Regions from separate parts of the Homo sapiens genome. Here all the other regions are linked to region 4. The links are contacts of gene promoters, found by promoter capture Hi-C in blood cells and fetal thymus (Javierre and others, 2016). All regions are on one chromosome and are shown on one strand. Each heading gives the region's core, a stretch centred on a gene start or on the middle of the fragment in contact. The rest is flanking DNA. Distances are from core to core; before and after follow the strand shown.

Evidence for each region. Contacts are between HindIII fragments. The CHiCAGO score rates a contact against its expected background, and 5 or more counts as called.
Region 1: the fragment with the promoter of ATP4A here is called in contact with a fragment that was not itself captured in region 4 in 1 of 17 cell types (neutrophils); the score reaches 5.8 in neutrophils.
Region 2: a contact is called between the fragment with the promoter of LRFN3 here and a fragment that was not itself captured in region 4, in 2 of 17 cell types (neutrophils and M0 macrophages). The highest score is 8.7, in neutrophils.
Region 3: the fragment with the promoter of TMEM147 here is called in contact with a fragment that was not itself captured in region 4 in 4 of 17 cell types (neutrophils, monocytes, M0 macrophages and 1 more); the score reaches 9.7 in neutrophils.

The regions. Positions count from the first base shown.
Region 1 is chr19:35,562,007-35,564,936 of GRCh38, reverse strand. It overlaps ATP4A (ATPase H+/K+ transporting subunit alpha), which reads left to right and starts at 1,279. Exons shown (of 22, transcript NM_000704.3): 1 at 1,279-1,319; 2 at 1,410-1,553; 3 at 1,669-1,728; 4 at 2,299-2,502. The coding sequence starts at 1,308. RefSeq lists an enhancer at 1-124. The HindIII fragment of the contact is 9,853 bases long and covers 1-2,930 here.
Region 2 is chr19:35,934,464-35,937,623 of GRCh38, reverse strand. LRFN3 (leucine rich repeat and fibronectin type III domain containing 3) reads right to left here and starts at 1,250. Exons shown (of 3, transcript NM_024509.2): 1 at 69-1,250. The HindIII fragment of the contact is 21,793 bases long and covers 1-3,160 here.
Region 3 is chr19:35,543,922-35,546,875 of GRCh38, reverse strand. It overlaps TMEM147 (transmembrane protein 147), which reads right to left and starts at 1,250. Exons shown (of 7, transcript NM_032635.4): 1 at 1,060-1,250; 2 at 919-988; 3 at 291-350; 4 at 68-204. The coding sequence starts at 1,136. It overlaps GAPDHS (glyceraldehyde-3-phosphate dehydrogenase, spermatogenic), which reads right to left. Exons shown (of 11, transcript NM_014364.5): 10 at 1,870-1,967; 11 at 1,557-1,778. The coding sequence ends at 1,706. It overlaps TMEM147-AS1 (TMEM147 antisense RNA 1), which reads left to right and starts at 847. Exons shown (of 4, transcript NR_038396.1): 1 at 847-939. RefSeq lists a silencer at 669-1,248 and an enhancer at 941-1,633. The HindIII fragment of the contact is 5,741 bases long and covers 1-2,954 here.
Region 4 is chr19:35,730,578-35,733,327 of GRCh38, reverse strand. KMT2B (lysine methyltransferase 2B) reads right to left here. Exons shown (of 37, transcript NM_014727.3): 25 at 2,712-2,750; 26 at 2,461-2,621; 27 at 1,193-1,420; 28 at 1-1,113. Among named protein-coding and RNA genes, the nearest start is that of IGFLR1, 10 kb to the left of the region's middle. The HindIII fragment of the contact is 6,974 bases long and covers 1-2,750 here.

The DNA of each region.
Region 1 (2,930 bases), core at 30-2,529, 170 kb after region 4:
CCATGTTGCACCTTGGTTTCCCCATCTAGGGTAGGGACGGGGAATGGTTGAGAGCTGTAAAGTCTGTAGCTGGATATGTGAGTCCCTGTGAGCCTCAGTTTCCCCCTCTGCACAACAGGAATGATAGTTCTGCCTGCACAGGGTTTTTTGCAAAGACCCGTGAGGTCACACGTGCAGAGCCTGGCATGTGTGTGGTGCTGCTGCAGTGAAGTTTGGGTTTTTCCATTGGTGGTGCCATAGAAGAGCTAGGCTCTGGGGTCAAGCCCTGGGGTCAAGCCCGGGCTGGAACCCTGTCCCTAATTCTTAGACGTTGAAATCTTCTGCAAAGTCCCTGATGGGGGCTAAGAAGAGAATATTGCTTTACAGGGCTGCTGTTAGATGCTAAGGAAACCATTTGAGTGACACACAGAGCACACCCAGCCCATAGTGAATAGTCAGAGTTCAGTAAACATTCAGCCACCATAGAGAGTGTTGTAAGCATGGCAGGGCATGGTGGCTCACGCCTGTAATCCCAGCACTTTGGGAGGCCAAGGCGGGTGGATCACCTGAGGTCAGGAGTTCGAGACCAGCCTGGCCAACCTGGTGAAACCCCGTCTCTACTAAAAGTACAAAAATTAGCTGGGTGTGGTGGCATGTGCCTGTAGTCCCAGCTACTCAAGAGGCTGAGGCAGGAGAATCACTTGAACCCGGGAGGCGGAGGTTGCAGCGAGCTGAGATTGCACCACTGCACTCCAACCTGGGTGTCAGAGTGACACTCCATCTCAAAAAAAAAAAGAAAAAAAAAAAGAGTGTGGGAGCACCCTCCTCTTCCAGTTGATCAGGCACGTGCTATTTAGACTGAAAGAGGACACTCTGCAGCCAGCTGATCTGGTTCTCACTCCATTATGTCCTAGCCTGTGATGGAGCCATAGGAGAATGACTCAACCCCTCCATGCCTCAGTTTCCCCATCTGTAAAGGGTCTTGTCCCCTCAAAGGGTTATTGGAAGGTTAAATAAGTTAGCACATGGAAGCCGTCAGCACAATGCCCAGCGCATAATGAGCACCTTATGTTTGCTCTTCTTGTTGCTGCAGCGGTTCCCAGGGGCTCCCTGATCTCAGGGCAGGTTGACATGGGGGGATCTGGGCAGGGGAGGGGGGGGCCAGCCCAGGAGGGAATGCCTGAGGTGCCCAGGCCTAGAGGTCACCCCAAGGAGCCTGTAATCAGCTGTGGTCGGGCGGTTCTGCTCCACCCCACCGCCCTCCCTGGGTATATCAGGACTGGTCCGGGCCCAGGCTCTGTTGGGTGGGAGCACAGGCACCGGGCACCATGGGGAAGGCCGTGAGTGGGGCCCAGGGGTCCGGGGTGCAGTGGGGACAGGGGTTGCAGTGGAATCTGAGTTCTCCCTCCCTCCATCCTGTCCATTCCCAGGAGAACTATGAGCTCTACTCGGTGGAGCTGGGTCCTGGCCCTGGCGGGGACATGGCTGCCAAGATGAGCAAGAAGAAGAAGGCGGGTGGCGGGGGTGGCAAGAGGAAGGAGAAGCTGGAGAACATGAAGAAGGAGATGGAGATTGTGAGCTCTGACTGGGGAGGGGCGGGAGCTGGAGGGTAGGCTGGGAACCAGGCAGTGGGCGGGGAGGGGGCCAGGAGAGCCCAGAGCAAGCACCCTGCCCCACCCCACCACACAGAACGACCACCAGCTGTCAGTGGCGGAGCTGGAACAGAAATACCAGACCAGTGCCACCAAGGTGAGCTGGAGACTGGGAGCGTACAGAAAGGGGAGGAGGAGAGAGGGAGGGAGAGGGAGATGGAAGGAGGGAGATGGAGAGAGGGAGAGAGAGGGAGAGATGAAGAGAGGAAGATATGGAGAAATAGAGAGAGGGAGGGAGGCAGAAAAGGAAAGAGGGAGGGAGGGAGAGAGGAAAGGATGGAGGGAGGGGAGGAGAGAGGGAGGGAGATGGAGAGAGGGAGAGAGAGGGAGAGGGAGAGAAGGGAGAAAGCATTAGAGAGAAAGGGTGACACACAGAGACGGAGAGAGGAGTAGCTGAAAAGAGACAGCAAGACAGAGAAGGCAGAGACAAATAAGGAGAGAGCAGCAGGAGAGAGACACATAGAAAGGGGAGCGAGGAGAGAGAGACAAAGGGAGAGATGAAGGAGGGAGGGAGAGATGGGGTGGGGGCAGGAACCAAGAGACAAAGAGATGAGAAGGAGCAGGACAGACCAAGCTGGAGAAGGGAAACTGAAGCAGGGGGCTTTCCACGGGGTGTGCATGTGGAGGAAAGCCCCCAGGACCGCCTCGCCCTGCCCCTCTGTCCCAGGGCCTCTCTGCGAGCCTGGCTGCTGAGCTGCTGCTGCGGGATGGGCCCAACGCACTGCGGCCACCACGGGGCACCCCAGAGTACGTCAAGTTCGCGAGGCAGCTGGCCGGGGGCCTGCAGTGCCTCATGTGGGTTGCCGCCGCCATCTGCCTCATCGCCTTTGCCATCCAGGCTAGTGAGGGGGACCTCACCACCGACGACAATGTGAGCCATGTTGTGGGGACAGGCTCAGGACATGGGGACCTGGGGATGGAAGACACTGAGCCTGGGACTTGGGACAAGAGGGGCAGAGAAGGATGGGGATAGACGAACACGAAAGGCAGTCTCAAGACAGGGGTCATGGAGGGTGAAGGACATTGGGATATGGATGGGGCAGACCCAAGGACACAGGACACAGGGACACTGGGGTGAATCTTGGGTATGGGGACATAGGTGGGGGCATAAAGAGTATGGCAATGTGATACGTAAGAGATGGGATTTGGAGGCCGGGCGTGTAATCCCATGCCTGTAATCCCAGCACTTTGGGAGGCCGAGGCGGGCAGATCACCTGAGGTCAGGAGTTCGAGACCAGCCTGGCCAACATGGCAAAACCCCATCTCTACTAAAATTACAAAAATTAGCCAGACATGGTG
Region 2 (3,160 bases), core at 1-2,500, 200 kb before region 4:
GGTACCGTAACCCGCAGCCACAATGCTCCTCCCAGCCCGTCCCCACCTTGAGGTTTCAGCAGCCTTACCTGAGCTAGAAGCAGCCCCAGGGAGCAGAGTCCTAGCTCCAGGGGAGTCAGAGGTCAGGGCTCTGGAGGGAGCATCTGGTCATGCTTTTCCTGTCCCCAAGGCTTCTGTAGAGGGACTGTGTCCTGACTCGGCTCAAATCTGTGGCAACGGAGTCTCCAGACCTTAATACTCGGGGTTCCAGACCCCTAAATATTGGGCCTCTAGGGTCCAGTTTTACGGGTCCAGTTTGGGTTGTTCAGGGTCAGGGTCTCCCAGGTCCAGTCTTGGGATGCTAAGCAGCCAAACGGTGGGGTTTAGAGTCTGAGATCCGATCCCGGGGTTCTGCATTCAGATATTGGGGTGCTGAGTCAAGATTGGGAGGTCTCAAGCCCCAGATTTAAGCACTCAGGTCTGCAGCAAGGACTTCAGGCCCAAACTCGGGTTCAGGCCCCTTGGAATCCCACAGTCCAGATCTTGGAATTTGAGGCCTGAATCCCAGGGTTCAGGTCCCCAAGAGTGGGTTCCAGGGTACAGTACTGGAAATCCAGTCCCAGATTTCAAGGTCCCAGGCCCAGAATTCAGAGTTCAGCTCCAGGCTTGAGGTTTTAGATGTCAAATCTTGGGGTTCTGCTCCAAATATTGGGGTCTGTGTTCCAAATTGTGGGGTTCCGGCTCCAAATATTGAGGTCCCAGTGACCGATGTTGAGATTCCAGCCCCATATACTGGGGTTCAGGCTCCAGATCTTGGGGTTCCACGGCCGGATCTCGGGGTGCTGGTCCCAGATCAGGGTTCCAGGCTCGGGTTTCCGGAATTCCCGATTCAATCTGGGGGTGCAGGCCCCCGAGGTGGAGGTTAGGGCGCGGGGTCCGGGGCGGCGGCGTCCCGGCTGGCTTCCTGGGCTGCGGCGGAGGCTGACTGGGAGGGAGGGGACCGGCTGCGGTGGGGAGGGGGGCGACCGGGCAGCCCCAGGGCCGGGTGGGGCGAGGCCTGGGAGCGGAGGGACGGTCAGACAGACTGGGACACGCGGGATGGGGGCACCGCAGCGCAGGCGGGGGCGCAGGGGGGAGGGGCCGCGCTCAGAGACCCCTCCCCCGCCGGGGCCGAGGCGGGGGCCGGGCGGGGGCCGGGCTGGGCGGGCCGGGTCCAGGCGCTCCCGCGGCCTCCTCGCCGGCAACCCAGGGCAGCGCGCGCACCGGCGCTTAAAGGCGCAGGCTCCGCGCGCACCCGCGCTTAAAGGCGTAGGCACCCGCCCCTTCTCTCAAAGACGCGCCCCGGCCCCACCTCCCATGGAGTCGCACTGGCGCTGCTGGGAAAGAGAATCCCTGGATACAGAGAGACTGAGACAGAGAGACAGAGAAGAACGGAGATACAGAAAGGCAGACAAAAAGATGGGCAGGCTTAGATTGATGGATAGAGAGGAGAAAATGGAAAGAGGCAGAGAGACAGATTGAAACACACACATATTCGAGACATGGAAATGCACAGAGACAGCGAGACACAGAGAGTGATGGAGAGACAAGAGATAAGGACAAGTCAGAGAAAGACAGAAACAGAGATAGAGACGTGCGTGCGCGCGCACACACAGACACACACATACACACTCACACGCTCTAAGACGCAGCACCTGGGCTGTGAGAATGGTATGTGTGTATGTGCATTCAGTAACTATTCCTAGCCTTGAGTGTAGCGCTTCATTCCAGAGCCACTGGCCCCCCAAACCTGTCTCTTTCTGCCCCCCTTATCTCAGCACCACCTCCCTGGAATGTCCTTTCCACGGTTGGAGTTTCCTTACCTGGCCATGCCCAGCAATAGGCTTGATCTTTCAGGCCAGAGGGGCTCCTTCCCAAGGCTCCTTTCTCTGCCTGCAAGAGGGAAAACTTGTGCCATCTGGGATTAGGGAAAGACCTCAAGACACACTGACAGCCGGGGGCGGTGGCTCACGCCTGTAATCCCGGCTCGTTGGGAGGCCAAGGCGGGCGGATCTTTTGAGATCAGGCGTTGGAGACCAGCCTGGCCAACATGGAGAAACCCCGTCTCTACTAAAAATACAAAAATTAGCCGGGTGTGGTGGCGGACGCCCGTAATCCCAGCTACTCGGGAGGCTGAGGCAAGAGAATTGCTTGAACCCGGGAGGTGGAGATTGTAGTGATCTGAGATCCAGCCATTGCACTCCAGCCTGGGTGACAGAGTGAGACTCTGTCTTTAAAAGAAAGAAAGAAAGAAAGAAAAGCAGAGAGGGATGCCTTGCCTTGCAGGAGCCAGGCCAGGTGTCCTTGCAGTGCAGCCCACCAGGATCACCCGGGGGCACCATAGATCTCCAGGTCCCAACCTCAGAGTTTCTGGTTCAGTGGGTCTGAGGTGGGACCCAAACATTTGCATTTTTAACGAGTACCCAGGTGATGCTAATGTGACTTTTCAAAGACCATACTTTTTTTTTTGAGACAGGGTCTTGCTTTGTCACCCAGTACATTGGTGCAATCATAATTGACTGCAACCTCAAATTCCTGGGCTCAAGCAATCCTCCCACCTCAGGCTCCAGAGTAACTGAGACTACAGGCATGCATCGCCATATCCAGCTAATTTTTAAAATTTCTTGTAGAGACAGGGTCTCAATATGCTGCCCAGGCTGGTCTTGAACTCTTGGCCTCAGGCAATCCTCCCTCCCAGGCCTCCCAAAGTGTTGTGATTACAGGTGTGAGCCACTACACCTGGTCAGGGACCACATTTTGAGAACAGCTGGGCTGAACCAGGGCTATCTGCACTGCACACGGAACTGTCTACCACAACAGCTATGCTAAAACCTGGTGGGTTGAGGGCATGTAGCACCGCAGATGTGTACCAAAGAGACAAATGTATTTAGAGACATAAAGAGGAATTCAGTCTATAAGGGACTTAAACAATGCAACAAGCAAAAAACAAATAACCCCATTTTATTATTATTTTATTTATTTATTTATTTTTGAGACAGAGTCTAGCTCTGTTGCCCAGGCTGGAGTGCAGTGGTGTGATCTTGGCTCACCGCAAGCTCCACCTCCCGGGTTCACGCCATTCTCCTGCCTCAGCCTCCCGAGTAGCTGGGACTAGAGGCGTCTGCCACCATGCCCAGCTAAT
Region 3 (2,954 bases), core at 1-2,500, 190 kb after region 4:
CTCCAGCACCCCCGTGGAACCCAGGTGTCCCTTCTCAGGGGTCTGGGCTCCAGGCTGCTGTACGCACCGGGACATAATAAGCTCAGCAGTGGCCCAGCCCAGGGCAGCAACCATGATCTTGTACTCTCCCTTGCCGGCATTCCGGGACATGACAAGGTTTAGACCTATCAGGTCTGCCACATCCACGCTGGCCTTCATGAACTCCTGCGGGTCAGGTTGAGGCTTAAGTAAGCACAGGGGGACAGGGAGCCCCATTCCTGAACTCCCTTCCCTTCCCTGGCCCCTCTCACCCCAATGAAGTCATAGATGCCGCCTTCCCAGGTGGGAAAGAAAGTGGCCAAGAACAGCATCTGAGAACAGAAAGCAGAAAGAGGTCACTTCAAGGTGAGGGGATCAAGATAAACCACGTGGGATTTGTGGGAAGTTCGTGGGTAGGAAGAGGGCAGGACAGGTTCTGGGGGCCCATCTGGAAGAGGAACCACCAGATGGTGGCAAAATTACAGGAATCGGGGAGATAGAGGATAGGTCCCCGGGTCCCCGAGGGGGCTGGAAGTTTGAGTTCTGGGTGATCACAGGGCATCTGAGTCAGGTCTGAAGGTGCTGCTCCTTGGGCAGTGTTAGCAGCACGTACGGAATCAGTGATCACTCTTAACCGCACCAAAAAAAACCTGTTAGCCAACCACACTACTGAGGTTTTCTCAGTTTTACTAAGTGCTACGCAAAAGTTGCTTCTAGGTCTCTTCTCAGGTCGTGCCCTCTTTAAAGTCCATCCTCTCTAGGTATCCTGACGCCTCCCAGTGCGGAGTCCCGAGGGCGGTCCCACCGTGGGGCGGCGGGGGCGCGGATAGGCAACGGGGGCGGGTCCCTGGGTCTGCAGAGCCTGGGGGCCAGAACACGTGGCTTCCCGGTGGCCCTCACCTTGCAGAGTTGGACAAAGAGGTAGGTGACTCCAGCCTGGACGCATTTCCAGAAGGCGTTGTACTCGGACCTGGAGAAGCGGGAGGTGAGGGTCGGCCCGGGCCCCGCGCCCTCTCCGCCCCGCGCCCTTCCCGCACTCACAGGCCGCTGCACTTGTAGGTGATGAAGTAGGGGAAGTAGGCAAGAGCGAAGCAGTTCCCGAAGTGAAACAGGGTCATGATGCCGGCCGCCCGGTCCCGCCCGCGCGGGGATCGCGAGGCGGCGTCTCCGGGAGCGGGTCTCCGGCTCCGCCGGCTCTTTCGCCACGGCCAGGGCCTGGCACCCACCTGACTGGCGGGGGCCCGCGCGCGACCTTCTGGGAGCAGTAGTCCCGGCGCGGGGCGTCGCGCCCAGTGACGTCAGAGAGCCCGTGGCCGGCCCTGGGTCCCACCGCTGCCGGCCCAGCGCTTTGGGGAGTGACTTCCGGCCATGCGGGGCCTCTACCGCTGCCATCGCGGTCCCGGTCTCCTGAAGTGGAACCCGGCTTGGAGTCGAGCGCGACCCCTCGCCCGTGGGCGCAGGCGATCGAGTAAGGGTGGGGCGGGCCTCAAACCCGGATCAGAACCCGCCCTGACCGGCGCAGAGATACGGGACGCAGCCGTGAGCACTGTTTTTTATTTCACCATGGACCCATCGGCGTGGGGCGCCCGCCCCGGGTGTCCTTCCTCCCCCGGGCAGCCAGATGCTGGAACGGGAGGCACATGTTCCGGCCCCGGCCCCTGGGAAGGAAAGAAAGGACCTTCCCGTTTCACTTGTCTCGGCTGAACATGTAGCGGAGGAGGTCGACCACCCGGTGACTGTAGCCATATTCGTTGTCGTACCTGTGGAGGAGGGGTCGGGAGGTTCAAGGGGGTTCCTTCCGACCACCCCTTAGTTCCCCTCCCTCTAAGTCTCCAGCTCCTTCCCCCTTACCATGAAATGAGCTTCACGAAATTGTCATTGAGCGCAATGCCGGCCTTAGCATCGAAGATGGACGAGTGGGTATCACCGAGGAAGTCCGTAGAGACGACCTGGAAGTCAGAATTTCAAAGATAAGTGTGTCCGGCAGAGCAAGGACCTCCAGGAGCTGAGGCCCCGACTCTTAACTCTATCGCCCATCCATGCATTCATCTATAATATTTGATGTAGCCCTACTGTGTCCAGTCTCTGGACTGGAGGGTATGACCAAGTGCAGGGTATGACCAAGGCACTGTGTCAGGGTCTGGCCAAAGGGCACAGGTCACAAACACCCTCATGCTGTACCAGTACATCCCTTTCCTAGGAATAATGCAAGCGTTTGGAATGGGCCAGCATGGAGGGCCTCTCTGAGGGGTGGCCATGAGCCTGGGTCTAGATGACTAGAAAGATCTGACCGGCTGGGGCCCTCAGCACAGTGTCTGAGGTAGAAGGAGCTGCAGGAAGGGAGGACCTGAGGGTTTTAGCCCTAGTGTCATGAAAGGCCACAGGAGTGTTTTCAATCCTGAAAACGGGTGATGCAATGTGATTCCATTAAAACAAAAGATCCCAGTGACTGTGGGAAAGTGGACCTGCAGGAGTTAATGCAGGGAGACAGCACCAAGGTGGATGTACAGGGGTCCACCATGACCATGGCATCCACTCCTCACAGAGAAGGCATCTGGCCATGGCCTGGCCCTGAGCAAGTATTGAAAAAAATGGGAGCTGTTGTCTTTTGTTCACTAAGCATGTATTAGTCACCTGCTGTATGCCAGGTTGGAGCCACAAAAGTGAAAAGGCAGCCCCTAAATCCCTGTTTTCTTGGAGTGCACACACCACTGGGGCCAACAGTGACTATGAAATGAAATTTCAGGTGAGGAATATGGCCACAAAAAGAACATATTTTGAGGGGGTGCCTTGCTGAAGAGGGAGGTTCCTCCAGAGACTTGGAGGAAGTAAGGACAGACTGTATGGTCACCTGGCAAGGGAAGCATTCCAGACTAAAGGAACAGCAAGTGCAAAGGCCCTGAGGCAGGGAGATCTCCCTTCCTGCCCTGCAGTTT
Region 4 (2,750 bases), core at 251-2,750:
GGGGAGGGGGTGGCGGGGGCGGGGCAGGGCGGACCACTCCGACCACGGGCAGCACGCCGAGGAGGGGGCCTGGGGGCAGAGTCCAGGAGGTGGGAGCCGTGGGGGAAATGGTGGGGGGCAAAGGTGGCTGCTTCACTGGGGGTGGGACAGGTTCACCCTCCCCAGCCATCTTCACAAATACTTGCCCCAGCTTGTTGACAAGTATGATTTTGGATGTGGCGGGTTTGGGGGGCTCAGGGGCAGGGCCAAGGCTTAACACCCGGACCCCTGGGGCCCCTGGGAGCCAGGCAAATGTGCGGGTGGGGTCAGCTGGGCTGGCGGTCAGGCCTTGGGAGGGCTGGCTGCCATTAGCCAGGGGAGGCGCCGGGGGGAGTGACTCCTCTCTAGGGCCAGCACCTCCATCCCCAGGACCCCCTAGGTTCTTCAACACAAAATCCACAATTTCCGATGGCAGGTCCTCAGGAGGCCGGGCCCTGTCCCCTGCAGCCCCAAGGACCCCTGCCCGGACTACTCCTGGCCCCGAAGGAGGCGTGCCCTGGCCCCGAGGCTGCTGCACCGCCTCAGCCTCACTGTCAGTGCCGTCGTCCACGCCGTCCAGCTGTTCAATGCGGGGGGCTCCAGGGGTAGCGCTGGGGGCCAGACCAGGGGCGGACACCACAGTCACAGGGAAGTGGATGTAGCGGGAGGTGGGGCTGGACTCCTCCTCGGAGCTGTCCCCCGGGCCCCCGTGGCTGCTCCCCATGGCCCCAGCGGCTACAATCTCTTCCTGGAAGGGCTCAGTCCCCAGCAGGCTGGCCGCGAAGTCCAGGTCAGCAGCACTCAGTCCTGACACCACCTCCATGTCCTCGAAGTCTGGGCCCAGGTCTTCAGGGGGTGGTGGAGATGGGGCCGGGCCAGGGGGAGCCAGCTCCCCTGAGGTAGGTGTGAGGGCTGTGACGACTGAGGTAGGAGGGGGCACCCTGAGCTGAGGGGAGGTTTTTAGAGGAGGGGAGGCCCACCGTGATGGAGGCGGCCTGGGAGCCAAAGGGCTGGGACGACGGGAACGTCTGGGGGGAGCTGGGAAGTCCGGGTCTCCCACTGTGGGGATGTGGTGGGTCAGTGAAGATGGACTTCCTGTGGGGGGAGGGTTGGTGTTACCAGCAGCTCCCACCTCCGCGGCTCCACCCCCAACCCCCACATGCCCGGTGCTCACCAGGGGAGGGCAGGGGGCCAAAGGAGACACCCCCCAAGGGCCTCCGGGATGGCGAGTAGTTGGGCACTTTGATTCGAGCCCCCGAAAAAGAACGGGGGGCTGGAGGAGGGGCGCTGCCTGAATCTGGCCGCAGTGGAGGGTCCAGGTTCTGAATGGGCGAGTGGCGCTCAGGAGCTCCAGGGACAAGAACATCTGTGTCCAGTGGGGGGTCCTCACCACCTGGGGGCTCTGAAGAGGCGAGAAATGGCATTGGGGTGGTAGGGGCTCTGTGTCAAAGCCTGCCCACATGCTCTCATCCTGAGCCACTATGCCTCCCAGGTCCCCGACCCTGACCCAGTCACAACAGGCCCCAGTTTCCAGTGACCACCCAGGCTAAACCCACCGTGGAGTTGGCAAAACCTGCACACACCTGGGCCAGGGGGCCTTCAGGGCCTCTCCCCACTCGCTCCTTGCCATCTCCTCTCTGCCTCTGCTGCAGGCTTTGCACGCCATGGGGAACTGCCCTCCCTCCAGCACGGCCAGTCCTACCACTTTCTTACTTGCCTGGTGCATCCAAGCCACATCAGACGCTCCCGCCCGCCCCGGCCCGGAGGCTCTCCATTACCTGGCTCCACCCAACCTCTGCAAACTGATCTCCCTCCTCCACCCAAAACTCCCTGGTTTCCAGACGGGATGGGTGTACCCTCCTCCTCTGTCCACTTCTTGTCATGCTCCAACCTGGAATAAAGCCCTTCCTACCATCCAAATCTCTTCTGCCTCCTGCTCTGCCCACAATAACCTCTCCCCCATCTCCAAGCCCATTCTTTGCCCTGTGCCATCCAGCTCTCAGCCACATCCCACAGCCAGTGTGGCTGTAAGGGGGCCGGTTTGGGAGCTGAGCAGATGCAGTTCCAATTCCAGCTTCCCTAGCATGTTACTGTGTTCAGCCACTGTCCCCTTCAAGGTGTAGTATGGCGACACTGGAGAGCGCTCCATGAGCACAGTGCCCCAAGTTAGGGAGCTGTAAGCACTCTACTCCCTGCAGTCGTCCAAAAGCCAGTACCCCACCTCAAGTAGGCAGCGTGCCGCTCTCCCCACCTCACTTCCCATGAAAAGCCGGGCACAGCCCCTGGCACACAAGGCATGGCAGTAAGCGAGCTGCCGTTACATTACAGCAACTGAAGCAAAAGCAAGCCTCCTGGACTTTCCAAAAGGGAGCGGGGAACAGAGATCTGTAGGTTTGTTTAGGGAGAGCGGTATTCAGGAAGAAGACAGAGCCAAAGCCACACCTGAGGAAGGGGCGGGGCTGTGCACAATGGTCTGGTTCTCCTCTGCAGCCTCCAGGTGAGCTGGCTCTTCCCTCGGCCCCCATGGCCGATACTCCAGAATTCGGCACCGATACCAGCAGCGCCTCCGAGCATCCACTGTGCTCCAGTACAGACGGGAGCACCTGGCATGTGGGATAAGACGGTTAGGATGCTTGGGAAATGGGATCCAGCTATGGAGTCCCCTGGCCCCATGGATCACCCCGACCGCTCACTGGTAGCCAATGGGGAAGAGCCGTCCCTCGCAGTCCGAG